Linked DNA regions of Homo sapiens: all the other regions are linked to region 1. Evidence: promoter capture Hi-C in 16 types of primary human blood cells and fetal thymus (Javierre and others, 2016). All regions are on one chromosome and are shown on one strand. The core of a region is centred on a gene start or on the middle of the fragment in contact, and the rest is flanking DNA. Distances in the headings are between cores, read along the strand shown. Region 1 holds the start of RFXAP (regulatory factor X associated protein). Region 2 has its middle 15 kb from the start of UFM1. Region 3 has its middle 35 kb from the start of UFM1.

The links. Contacts are between HindIII fragments. The CHiCAGO score rates a contact against its expected background, and 5 or more counts as called.
Region 2: a contact is called between a fragment that was not itself captured here and the fragment with the promoter of RFXAP in region 1, in 1 of 17 cell types (total CD8 T cells). The highest score is 5.9, in total CD8 T cells.
Region 3: a contact is called between a fragment that was not itself captured here and the fragment with the promoter of RFXAP in region 1, in 1 of 17 cell types (monocytes). The highest score is 5.5, in monocytes.

What each region holds. Positions count from the first base shown.
Region 1 is chr13:36,816,952-36,821,555 of GRCh38, forward strand. RFXAP (regulatory factor X associated protein) reads left to right here and starts at 2,271. Exons shown (of 3, transcript NM_000538.4): 1 at 2,271-3,006. The coding sequence starts at 2,407. It overlaps LOC124903158 (a long non-coding RNA gene), which reads right to left and starts at 2,120. Exons shown (of 2, transcript XR_007063760.1): 1 at 1,216-2,120. RefSeq lists a silencer at 2,189-2,558 and enhancers at 2,789-2,838, 2,849-3,078. The HindIII fragment of the contact is 8,641 bases long and covers 1-4,604 here.
Region 2 is chr13:38,332,172-38,336,709 of GRCh38, forward strand. No RefSeq gene overlaps it. Among named protein-coding and RNA genes, the nearest start is that of UFM1, 15 kb to the right of the region's middle. The HindIII fragment of the contact is 874 bases long and covers 1,119-1,992 here.
Region 3 is chr13:38,383,194-38,387,418 of GRCh38, forward strand. No RefSeq gene overlaps it. Among named protein-coding and RNA genes, the nearest start is that of UFM1, 35 kb to the left of the region's middle. The HindIII fragment of the contact is 5,585 bases long and covers 1-4,225 here.

The DNA.
Region 1 (4,604 bases), core at 1,021-3,520:
CTGATGAATGCTGGGCTTAATACCTAGGTGATGGGATGATCTGTGCAGTGAACTACTATGGCACGTGTTTATCTATCTACCAAACCTGCACATCCTGCACATGTATCCCTGAGCTTAAAATAAAAGTCGAAGAAAAAAAGTAACATTATTTATGAATAAAGTTATATTTTTTCATTTAAAAAAAGGAATAAATGCTTGGTTTCTGTCCAATTCAGTAAAGAAGTAAAGTGTACTTTTTGTTCTTTTTCTTTTTTTTGATGATGGCAAGGACATAAAGTTTTGACATGAATGTTGATAGACATTTTTGTTTATATTGAGAAAAAACAAAAGTGAAACAATGAAGATGTATATAAGGTCTTCACTTGTTCAATGATGTGATGTAAGCAGTTTCTTTGCTGAATTGCATGATAGTTTTCAAATACTGAAAGAATATTTTCTCAGTTGGGGGGGTTGGATATTCACAATGTGAGAGCTGCAGATAGAATACATTTTCAGTTTAATCTTTTTCTTTTTCTTTTTTTCTTTTTTGATGGAGTCTCACTCTGTTGCCCAGGCTGGAGTGCAGTGGCACAGTCTTGGCTTACTGCAATCTCTTCCTCCTGGGTTCGAGCGATTCTCATGCCTCAGCCTCCTGAGTAGCTGGGATTATAGGTGTGGACCACCACACCTGGCTGATTTTTGTATTTTTAGTAGAGACGGGGTTTCATCATGTTGGTCAGGCTGGTCTCGAACTCGTGACCTCGTGATCCACCTGCCTGAGCCTCCCAAAGCGCTGGGATTACAGGTGGGAGCCACTGAGCCTGGCCTTAAATTTAATCTTCATTAACATTTTCACTGTCACTTTCTTAAGTGCAGAGACAATCAGCAATAAGTGTAAACCTGCTTCGTAGCATTTGATCATTTCCCTGGTGTAAATACTCCAAAAGTGGCTGATTTCAAGCAATCAACATGACATACTGAAGGCAGAGTTGGGAAAATGTGCAGTAACACACCACTAAATAATATTTCCGCATACAGATACAATAGACATAAATAACCTTAAAAGCACAGATAATGATAAAACATAATAAAATAATTAGAAAATGAAGAGTTTTGAGATTTGTACCCTTTGTTTTTAATATAATCTTATTGTAAGTTTATGTAGTAAGACTTTTAATAATAGCAGTGTTTAATTTTTCTGCTAATTATATTCCTGAAATTTTAGCAACCAGTTACCATCAGTTGGCGCTAGCACACCACCGACTGCAGGCTTTACTGATGAGGAAACTGAGGCTCGGAGAGGCTGTCACGAACTTGCTGTAGTCACACAGGAAGTACTACCTAGGTTGCTCTAATTCCAAACCTTCTCCCTTCCATATGCCTCTCTTTAAAACATAACTGATCTACCTATATGTCAGCACCCAAACATCTTAGTGTGAATGGATTTATAGTTTGTTGAATAAAGTCATTGCTTTCCGGTAGGTGGGATGGGAAATCTGACTAGGCGAAAGAATAGGATGAAGGGAAAAAGAACATCTACTTAACAGTTCAGGATACGGCAGGATATTTTCTCTCCTGGGATTTGGGCAAGCCAAGATTTAACAACCAGCAATTGCCCAGCAACTGATAGAACTGGTAGAACATTCATTGTTTTTTTAAACGTTTGCCATTCAGTATTCCTTTTCACACATTTTCACTGTGTTAAACGAAAACGTTAAGACTTATCTCAGCAGCCACAGCAAAGAGCAAGTACTAACAATCAAGTGAGTTTCCAGGAGAAAAAAAACAAAGTTATCCCTCAATGCAAATACAACTCGGCCAAAGGTGTGGCCCATCCCTCTCCGCTCCACTATTTTCAAATAAGCCACCTCTGCCTTCATGGACTGCGAGCTAGTGACTCTAGGCTGTGACACCACTGCATCCCAGCTTCAAATCTCCCCTTGCAGGCAGTTTGTGGGGGAAATAATAAAATTAGCATCCTAACACTACAAGTCGTGAGACCGCTCAGGAACAATCCTAATTTGCATACTGGAACTCCTGTAGAAGATACTTTGAACCGCTTTAGATACAATAGGATCAGGTAAAACGGCGCTGCCTTGCCAGCCACTGCAGGTTTTCACCTGACACAGCCCCCAGACCCTGTCTACGAATCCCCCAGCTGGCCGAAGGGGCCGCGGCCGCACATGCGCAGTCAGTCCCGTTGGTTGTGCGCTCAGCCCCGCCCCCAGAGGCGCCGCGCTCCCTGACAGCCCGCGGGCGTACACACGCTGACGCGCAGGCTGCGGTCGCGCAGGCGCAGTCGGGGCGCCTTCCCGGTATAGGCGCCTTTTACCCCAGCGTGTCCTGAGTCTTTGGTTCGCGAAGTGCCGTTAGGCCAAGCAGGTGCTAAAAGCCCGGGGTCGTGGACCCCGGCCAGGTCTTAGCAGCATGGAGGCGCAGGGTGTAGCGGAGGGCGCGGGGCCGGGCGCCGCCAGCGGCGTGCCCCACCCCGCGGCCCTAGCCCCGGCTGCGGCTCCCACCTTGGCGCCAGCCTCGGTGGCGGCCGCGGCCTCTCAATTCACCCTGCTAGTGATGCAACCCTGTGCTGGGCAGGACGAGGCTGCGGCCCCCGGGGGCAGCGTTGGGGCGGGCAAGCCCGTTAGGTACCTGTGCGAAGGGGCCGGGGATGGCGAAGAGGAGGCTGGGGAGGACGAGGCGGACCTGTTAGACACTTCGGACCCTCCGGGGGGAGGCGAGAGCGCGGCTAGTTTGGAGGATCTAGAGGACGAGGAGACTCACTCGGGGGGCGAGGGCAGCAGCGGGGGCGCCCGGAGGCGGGGCAGCGGTGGGGGCAGCATGAGCAAGACCTGCACCTACGAAGGCTGCAGCGAGACCACGAGCCAGGTGGCCAAGCAGCGCAAACCGTGGATGTGCAAGAAACACCGCAACAAGATGTACAAGGACAAGTATAAAAAGAAGAAGAGCGACCAGGCCCTGAACTGCGGTGGGACTGCCTCGACTGGCAGCGCGGGAAACGTCAAACTCGAGGTATCAGACTTAGCTGAGGCCTGGGGATGGGAGGTGGAAGAAGAAACCCGATCTTAACGCAAACCGCATCTGCAGGGCCTGCCTCCCCACTTCCAAATGGGCCGGTTTGCAGTGACTGGGTTAGTGGTTGAGAATTAGAGTGTTTGCCCTAAATTAAAGTTTATACCAACATGTGCAAAGCAATAACAGTTCTGTTGAACTCATGATAGGTGCAGAAATTTCAGTAAAAATAATGTGACATCGGCAGAGCTGTCATAGATCTGGGATATGGCTGGAAGGACATAGAGTAAATGATCGGTCTGGTTCATCGCTAAAGGAGACTTAGGAACCTAGATGAAGTTGGTACTTCTGAGAAAGTCATCTCTTTCTGTTTTCACTACTCTATTCTCAGTATCCAGTTCTCAGTACCCAGTTCTCAGTACCTCTATTTGTAATACTCCTGTATTTAGTACTTTGTTTTTAGTGTCCTGTTCTGTTAACCCTCTTCCTAGTACCGTATTTTTAGTACTGCTATACTCAGTTGCCTGTCTGTAGTACCCCTGTACGTAGTACTCTTTTCTTACAACTCTGTTCCCAGTACCCCTATGTTTAGTCCCTTGTTCTCATGTTCTCACTACCCCAATACTTAATATACTTTGTTCTCAGTATCCTTGTTGTTAGTACCCTGTTCTCACTACCCCTTTTCTTAGTACCCCTGAGGGGGGAAAAAAAGGATGATAATGGGGTATAAGTCTCAAAAAACTTTTGGATTGTTTGATTTGAACTGAGTCAAAGGTAAAACCAGTGTTCTGGAGTTCGACTTCTGGGTGCAAATCCCTGTTGCATCATTTACTGGCCTTGTGGCTTGAATAGGTTATTAAACTCTGTAAAATGGGCATTAAAATCGTGTGTCATTCATAGTGTTGCTGTGAATATGTGAGCCATTCCATATTGAGGGTTCACACAGTGTCCAGCAACTGGCTAAAGTTTGCAAACCTTACCCATTATTATTGTCATTGTTAGTGGTATACTTTGAGGCTGTCACAAATAAGCAGATATTTCTTCTTGTGAGAGCTATATAATCCCTTAGTGTAGAGAAAAATTTAATTTTGTTACAAGTGATCCAAGCCAGGTATGGTGGCAAGTGCCTGTATACCCAGCTGTACTTGGGAGGGTGAAGTGGGAAGATTGCTTGAGACCAGGGGTTCGAGGCTGCCGTGAGCCTTGTTTGCATCACTGCATTCCAGCCTGGATGACATAGCAAGACCCTGTCTCCTTAAAAAAAAAAAAAAAAAAAAAAAAAAAATTTTTTTTAACTGCAAGCTGTCTTAGGGTCCTAGGATGTATTCTAAGTCTTTAAATTTCTTAGTTTCAGGCTGAACTTGAAGTGCTCCATCACTAAAATATTAGACCTTGTAATTGTTTACAAATGTAATGTTCTAGGCCAGGCTCAGTGGCTAATACCTGTAAGCCCAGAACTTGGGGAGGCCTAGGAGGGAGGATCGCTTGAGCCCGGAAGTTTGAGACCAGCCTGGGTAACATAGGGAGACCCCATCTCAACAAAAAAATTTTAAAAATTAGCCAGGTATGTTGGCACATGCCTGTGGTCCTAGCTACTC
Region 2 (4,538 bases), core at 306-2,805, 1.5 Mb after region 1:
TAGGCTTCTAAGAGGAAATATAAGAGAGCATATTTGTGACCTTGGACTATGTAAAGATTTCTTATACTAGATTTTAAAAAAGGACTAATCATAAGAAAAGAAAAAATGGACTTTATAAAAGATATATGCTCTTAAAGACTTAAAAAATGAATAAGCAATCCAAAAGTATAAGAAAATATTTGTAAGACATATATCTGTGGAATTCTTACAACTCAATAATAAAAATACAAATAACACAATAAGAAAATAGGCAAAAGATTTGAATGGACATTTCCCAAAAGTGGATATGTAATTGACCAACAAGCACATGAAAAAAGTGCTCAATATTATAAGGCATCCTGGAAATGCAAATTAAAACCACCATGAGTTACTACTACACAACCAGTAGAATGGCTATTTTTAAAATGACAACATTGTTTACAAAGGAAGGGAACGATTAGAACTTCAGACATTGCTGATGGGACTGAAAAATAGTACCACGACTTTGGAAATCTCTGTCACAGTTTCTTTTAAAGTCAAATGTACAACTACCCAGCAATTCCTCTACTAAAAATTTATTCAGGACGGGCACAGCGGCTCATACCTGTAATCTCAGCACTTTGGGAGGCCAAGGCGGGCAGATCACTTGAGGCCAGAAGTTTGAGACCAGCCTGGCCAACATGAGGAAACATCGTCCCTACTAAATATGCAAAAGTTAGCCAGGCATGGTGGCACATGCCTGTAATCCCAGCTACTCGGGAGGCTAAGGTAGGAGGATCACTTGAACCTGGGAGGCAGAGGTTGCAGTGAGCCAAGATGGCACCACTGCACTCTAGCATGGGTGACACAGAGAGACTCTGTCTCAAAAAAAAAAAAAAAAAAAAGCATTTATTCAGGATATAGAAAATATATGTCACCAAAATTACTTCTACAAAAATGTTAATATCAGCCTTATTTATAAGGCTATAAATAAACTCGAAGTAACCCAAATGTCCATAACAAGAGAATAAACAAATTATGTATATTTACACAATCGAATACTACTCAGCAATATGTTCCTAAAATGCAATAACATAATCATCACACTGAATAAAAGCCAGACACAAAAGATAGTTTACTGTATTATTTCAATTATATGAAGCTTTACAATAGACAAAGCTAAGTCATGGTAAAAGAAATCAGGTAAATGGTTGCTCATGGGTACGATGAATTGCCTGGAAAAGAACACAAAGGAAGTTTCTGGAGTGATGGAAATATTCTATATCTTTATTCTTTTTGTAATCTATGTACTTTATTCAAACATTTAAAAACATTATTCTTAGACAGGTTTTGTGCGATTGCCAGTAAGTTGTAAAAGCCTCATGCTAATGGCAGGACTTGAAAACTAGTTGCCTGGGTCTGGAAACTGTAGTCTTATTTACTAAAGTGTGGAAAAGAAATTTATAGACTCTATATTCTCTAGCTCGGTCTTAGCTAGGCATTAAACTGAAGCCAGAAACTGCAAGCCACAATTTCTCATTTACTAAGAAAATAAAAATAATGTTATTAGAAGATAAGCATTATGCCTTATTAGCAGTTGGAAAAAAGGTAAGTTCATCATTCCATATCAGTTATGATAAATGTTATGTTAAATCTGTATTTTTGTATCATATCCTCAATGATTACTCTCTCTCAGGTAAAGAACAATCAACACCCACTGTTATGTTTATTTTTTCCTTTTGTAATCTGAATTTTTCAGAAACATTTTAATTAAATTGCCAAGGAGACACATGAAAAGCCACAGAAGCCATCTTAAAAACATTAGAAGGTTTTCTAGCTTCTTGTAAGTTTTTGATGAACAAAAAAAGAAATAACGACACTGATGATATCATTTATAATATGACCAAATACAATCAGGCATGGGTTTTACGAAGTGTGACTATTTACTTTTTTATACTTTATTATTCCAAACAGTTTGCTTAAATTTGGAGATTAAAAGGTTACATGTCAGGTGTCCATAAACACCTGAGTGAAAGCTTTTAATAATATAAATGTTATCTTTTTAATAGTATAAATGTTCTTCTTTCATTGCTATCATTTTGCATTGAATACAAATAATTCACACAGAAAGGAAAGCTTCACAGCTGAAATATTTTAAAAAGATGTACTGAAACTTACTCTTCCAGCAACTTGACTTCACTTGATTAATTAGCTTTCAAAACTCTATTTAATTTTGAGACTTCTTTAAATCAATGCTATGAAAACTGAGACATGCTTACAGAATTAATTTTTTAAAATTTTTTTCTTAGCAAAGTAGAAGATATATATATATATAGAGAGAGAGAGAGAGAGAGATGTAATACGCATATATAAATATATATTGGAAGCCCACATGTGTAAGTCTGCTTACTAAGAAATCCAAAATGCTTCTTGCCACTTAAAACTTGTAACTAAAAATATTTATTACAGGAAATAATTGTGTTAGGATGTTTGTTGCAGAAAATTGTTTGCTCACCCAAAGTTGAATAGCACATATATTTTTAGAGGTTGTTTTATCCAAAAATCTTGTGATAATTAACTCAGTATGATCTTGCTCTAATTAACTCAAGTATGAATAACAGAATAATATAGTTTCTTAAAATTAAAAGCATAAAGGTATTGCAGCAGGCCAGGTCTCACTAACACAGGCCTCCGTAACAACTGTTTCAGCACTGACTTGGTGGTTAAGTTAAATATTAAAAGCTGACAGAGCCAGTGCCCTTTTGCAAAGGCTGAAATGTAACAAAAGCCCACCAAGAGTTTTGCCCAGGTCTTTCCTGGGCCTTAAAGCATGACAAGATAAAGAAGGACTTCTTGACAGGACCTGTTTAGGATTAGACAAGTTTTACTGGGAGTCCGAAGAAACTCCCCAAACCTCCATGGTTTAGCAGAAGACAAGATAAGGGTAATCACCCCAGCACCTGGACCCATTTAGATTAACTAAATTTACTGAGGATCCAGATGAATGGCTTTAGGACTCAGATCTTAGTTACAGAATAAAGGAAGTTAATCACTTATATCTTTAGATGAATGCATACTTACGCATAGACATATAGCTTAGAAGGTATATAAGCTCACGGAAACTTTTAATTTTGAGTTGGTCTGGCGATAATTTCCAGGCCTTCTCCCTGTAACCAGTTACAGAAATAAAAACTCTCTTCCTCCTCAGTTCATCTGCATCTTGTTATTGGGCTGCGAGAATAAGCACCCCGACCCTAAGTTTGGTCTGGGAACAGTAACCTTCTGGTAAAATTTACATGTCAAAAAATGACTCAAACAAAAGCATTTTAAAAACTGCAAAGGCTCATTTGCCTATGACAATAGTAAGTTACATTGGCCTACGGAAGCTACTGATGTATATTATCTATGATAGCAGAAACCAAGCTTCTTCAATGTGTGATTACCAGTACCTATTTAATGGCTGGCAGGGAACATTAAATATACTTATAAATATGTAAAAAGTCAATATGATCGTTCCTAATTAAAGTTAGTTTACTAAAGGTTATGAACAAATCGTGATTGTAGTCTTATTTCTCTGAACATTGGGAGTTATTTTTAAATTCCAAAATGGAGAGAAATTTTATTAAAATTTTGAGAAAAGAAAAGCTAAAATTAGAATTTTCTGACATTCAGGAAAGATGAAAAGTTAAAAATGCAAATAAGAAAATGTTAGAAGGCAAAGTAATCAATGTATTCATAGCCAGAGAATTTTAATAGTTTTGGCTTACATTCCTAATCTCAGACTGCTAGACCATCCTTCCATAGCTCCCAGGACATAAAATCAGTTAAAATTCATTTTGTGTCATTTATATTCAGTCTAAACTATCCTGTTTACCCAATGTTTAAATGTGTTTATTTTGCTACCAAAAAAAAAAAAAAAACAACTTTTGGAAAGTCTTTGACTCTATCACCTACTAGCTGCCAAGCAGCTGGTCAAGAGAGGCACAATAGTCCAAATAAAATACCAACTTTAGAAGCTATTTTCAGTTAAGAGACTGGACTCGAGAATTCAACATATCTGGAAAGTTTCCCAATAATGGAACAGACGAACTGTCTTTTTTCTCCTGCTTAGCTACAGGCAAAATCTAAAATTATAAAAATAATCATCACCCAAAACTTAACAGATTATGATGCTGAAAATCAAAACAACAACTGCACTCTTTCCAAATTTTCGGATTTCTCATTATCTAGCATTTGAATAAATTCCTTCCGAATTAAAGCTTAAACTATATTCATGAGTTAAATGGCATTATGTTAGATGTATATAGACTTACATATGAATTCCTTTCATGAAGAAACATATACTCTCTTAAGCAGGTTTCCCTACCTTTATCTAATGTTTTCCCATTTTATTCTAAGTGGAGGCCTATCTTAATCTCTGCATTGTTATTGATGTGTGTAGAACATTCACATTTAAAAGAAGTATCTACACATTTGGGCTTAAATCTACCACGTTATTATTGGCTTTCCATGTATCCTTCCTGTTCTTTTTTTGTTCTTTTTCTGCCTCCTTTGGGACTGATTGAATTTTTTACATTACA
Region 3 (4,225 bases), core at 275-2,774, 1.6 Mb after region 1:
GGTGCTATGTGACTCAGTTTCCAGGGCTTAACTTTTCACCTTGGCATAATAAATTAAGAAGGTTCTGAAATTTTATTTCAGTTTCATAAAATGAAATTTCATTTTATTTCAGTTTCATAAAATGAAATTTCATTTTATTTCAGTTTCATTAAATGAAATTTCATTTTATTTCAGTTTCATAAAATGAAATTTCATTTTCAGTTTCATTAAATGAAATTTCATTTTATTTCAGTTTCATTAAATGAAATTTCATTTTATTTCAGTTTCATTAAATGAAATTTCATTTTATTTCAGTTTCATAAAATGAAATTTCATTTTATTTCATTTTCATAAAATGAAATTGTATATTATTTCATTTTCATAAAATGAAATTGTATTTTATTTCATTTTCATAAAATGAAATTGTATTTTATTTCATTTTCATAAAATGAAATTGTATTTTATTTCATTTTCATAAAATGAAATTGTATTTTATTTCCTAATTTTTAATTTAAAAGTTAAGAAAACTAGACATTCAAAACTTACTAGAGATACAAAATAATACAATAAGATGCTATTTTATCCATCAAAGTATCAAAGATTAGAATTAAAAAATGATATTCAGAGTTGGCAAAAGATGCCAGAAACAGACACACTCATACAGGACCCAAGTAAATGTAAAATGATGCAGTCTTTCTGGAGGATTATAGGGCCATATTATCAAAAGTCTTAAATATCTTCTTTTACGCACTATCCCCATTTCTAGGAATTTATTCAATGGAAGTAATCAGAGGTGTGCATAAATGTTTCTGTGCAAAAGTTATCCCACTATTATTTACAAAAGCAAAGAAGAAAACACAAAGGAAATAACCAAAATGTTTAGTAATAGATATTCAGTTATGAAAGCATACTATTTTAAAATGAGATGAAAAATATTCATAATATAATATTAAGTTAAAATAGGACATAAAGCAAATATTACATGATAAATATTATATATATATATGGGTACTTTAGTCTTAACACTGGTAAAGTGATTTTAATTTTAATATTATTCGAATTTTTTATAAAAAGAATGCATTCCACTTATGTGTGTGTGTTTATCCGTTAATTTAAAGAGTTACTGTGCTCATTATAAAACTAGATGAAAAAAAGACTTTGATCTGCAAAGAGCTGTTCAAACTTTAGCAAGAAATGTGAAATATGTTAAAAATGTAAACACTATGGTTTGAGTTTTATTGTGTACTAATTAAAAGCAAATGTTTGCTAGCTCAAAAAAAAAGAGTTACTGTTATCAAATATTCAAAGCCGAAGGAATATTGTTGAGAAAAACATTAAGATTTTGGATATCCTAAATATTTAATATATTACCTGTAAGTATTTATTCAGAAGAAAAATGCCATAGATTCTTTTTTTTACTGCCTTAAACATATTCTAATGTTTTAGGTGCTTGCTGGGTGACAAATCAGTATTTTTCACTGTGTTAGTTAAGCTACTTCTAGATGTGTTTGTCTTTAAACAAGTGATTATTTTTATTATGTACCAGCACATTGTTATAGCAATTTTTAAAAGCATTGAATGTGTATAGAACAAAGTTGTTTTGTTGTTTCGTTTTTCTTTTCAAACTTTTAATACTTGTTTGCATAAAATTGGTGTTTATTCATTTGTTTAACAAATATTTATTGCACACTTCTACAGTCTGAGTTCTGTTCTTGGCATTGAAGAAACACTGGTGAATAAACATGTCTCTGACCTTGGATTTTAATAGAGCACGTAACAAATAAAAATAACAAAAAAATTACATAAAATCATCTCAGGAGGTGATAGGTGCTACAAGCCAACAGTACAGCAGGATGGGAAGCTCATAAGTGATGAGAAGGATGGTATTAATTAAGGTGGTCAGAGATAACCTCTTGAGGAGGTGTCATTTGAGCAGAAAGATGAATAAGATGAAGGAACAACCCATTTACATCATAGGGACAACATGACAGGCAGAGGGAAACACAGGTTCAAATCTCAGGAGACAGAAAAATTTGACATGCTAGAATCGCAAAAGCACACTGAGATCGGAGTGGAGGACGTGAGGACAAGAGCGAGGGAAAATTAGGTCCAGGCATATCACAGCAGATTTATTGAGTTCTGTGGCTTTTGTTCTAGTGTTACAGGGGGGTTACTGGGAAGATTTAGCGAGAGAGTAATGTGATCTGATTTCCGTTGTTAAAGAGTATGCTGGTTGCTGGGTGAAGATTAAACTGTAGGCAGGAAAGAGAAGAAAGAAAATAATACCAGTTTGGAGGGTCTTGCATCAGTGCAGGCAAAATACAGTTGCTTGTACCAGAAATAAAAGTGATGAGAAGTAATTTTACTCTAAATGTACTTTAAATATAGAACCAGCAGAATCTGCTGAGAAAAAGAGATGAATCAATGATGACTTCTAGGTTCTTGACTCAAGCAACTGCCTGAATGGTGTTTTCATTTCTTAGTGAGGTAAGTGGTTGGAGAAAGTGGATAGCAAAAGTTTTGTTTTCGACGTGTTGGTCTTGAATTGCATACTTGACATCCAAATTGGGATGTGGAGTAAGCAGTGAGATATACAAGTCTGAAGTTCAGAGAGGAAGTATGGTCTGGAGATATAAACGGAGAAATCACATGCACACAAATGGGATTTAGAGCCAAAGAATGGAATAAATACACCTAGAGAGTGAGGAGAAAACAAAAATATGTTCCAAGAATTATGTCCTGTAGTAATCCAACATTTCAAATTGGAAAAGGTGAAGAGTAACTAGAAAATGAGACTGAGAAAATATTGTCAATTCAGTAGAAGGAAAACAGAAAGAGTAGGGAATACAAATAGAAAATTGAAGACGTTTTTCAGCCAGGAAATGATCATTTATGTCAAATCCTCCTGCAAGATCTAGAACAAAGATTAGAAATTGAACTCAAATTGAACTTAGCAACATAGAATTTGATGTCGAGTTTAAGAGTAGTTTCAGTGAAGTTGTGGACTGACAGGCTGACTAGGAAAGACTGCAGAAAGGACAAACGGGAAAGAGGTGGAGACAGTAATGAAGACAATTCTTCTGAAGATGTTTGCTATTATATTCATGCATTTTATGTGTCATATAAATAAAATACACAGTATATATATAAAACATTATATTTACATATAATCAGGATGTTTTAATATATTTAATGCTATAATTTAAACTCTGATAATTTGAGAGGTAAGATATTTCATTTTACTTAAAGCATTGTTTATTTGTAATTGTGATAAAATACATAACATAAATTTTGCCATCTTAGCCATTAAGTCTACAGTTCAGTAGTGTTAAGTGTATTCACACCATTGTGCAATGAATCTACAGAACTTTTTCATCTTGCAAAACTGAGACTGTGTACCCATTAAACAATTCCTCATCACTGCATTCCTTGGAGTGGTGTCACAATCACTATTCTACTTTCTGTCTGTATCCATTGGACTACTCTAGTATCTCATATAAATGGAATCATAAGTATTGTTTTACTGGGACTGGTTTATTTAACTTAGCATAATGTCCTCAACCTTGAGGACATGTTGTAGCATGTGTCCGACTTCCTTCCCTTTTAAAGCTGAACAATATTCTATTGTGTGTATATACCACATTTAATTTATTTATTCATCTATCAATGAACATTTGGTTACTTGTACCTATTGGCTATTGTGAATAATGCTGCTGTGACTCTGGGTGTACAAATATCTCTTGAAATTCACCTTTTAGTTTATTTGGATTTAAGAAGTGGAATTGCTAGACCATATGGTAATTCTATTTCTAATTGTATGAGGTGCCCCCATAATGTTTTTCATATTGGCTACACCATTTTACATGCTCACCAACAGTGCACACTTTCTTCATACCCTTGTGAACATCTGTTATTTTCTTTTTTTTTTTTAAATACTAGCTACCCTAATGGGTGTGAAATGATATCTCATTGTGGTATCTTCATTTTCCTAGGGATTAGTGATGTCAACATCTTTTCACATGCTTTTTGGTCACTTACATGTATTATCTAGAGAAATGTCTATTCAAGATTTTTGCCCATTTTTTAATTAGGTTATTCATTATTGTTGTTGTTGAGTTGTAGGAATTATTTATACATTCTGGATATTAACCCCTTATCAGGGAAATGATTTGCAATTATTTTCTCCCATCCCGTAAGTTACATTTTCACTCTGTTGATTGTGTTCCTTGATGCACAACAGTTTTAA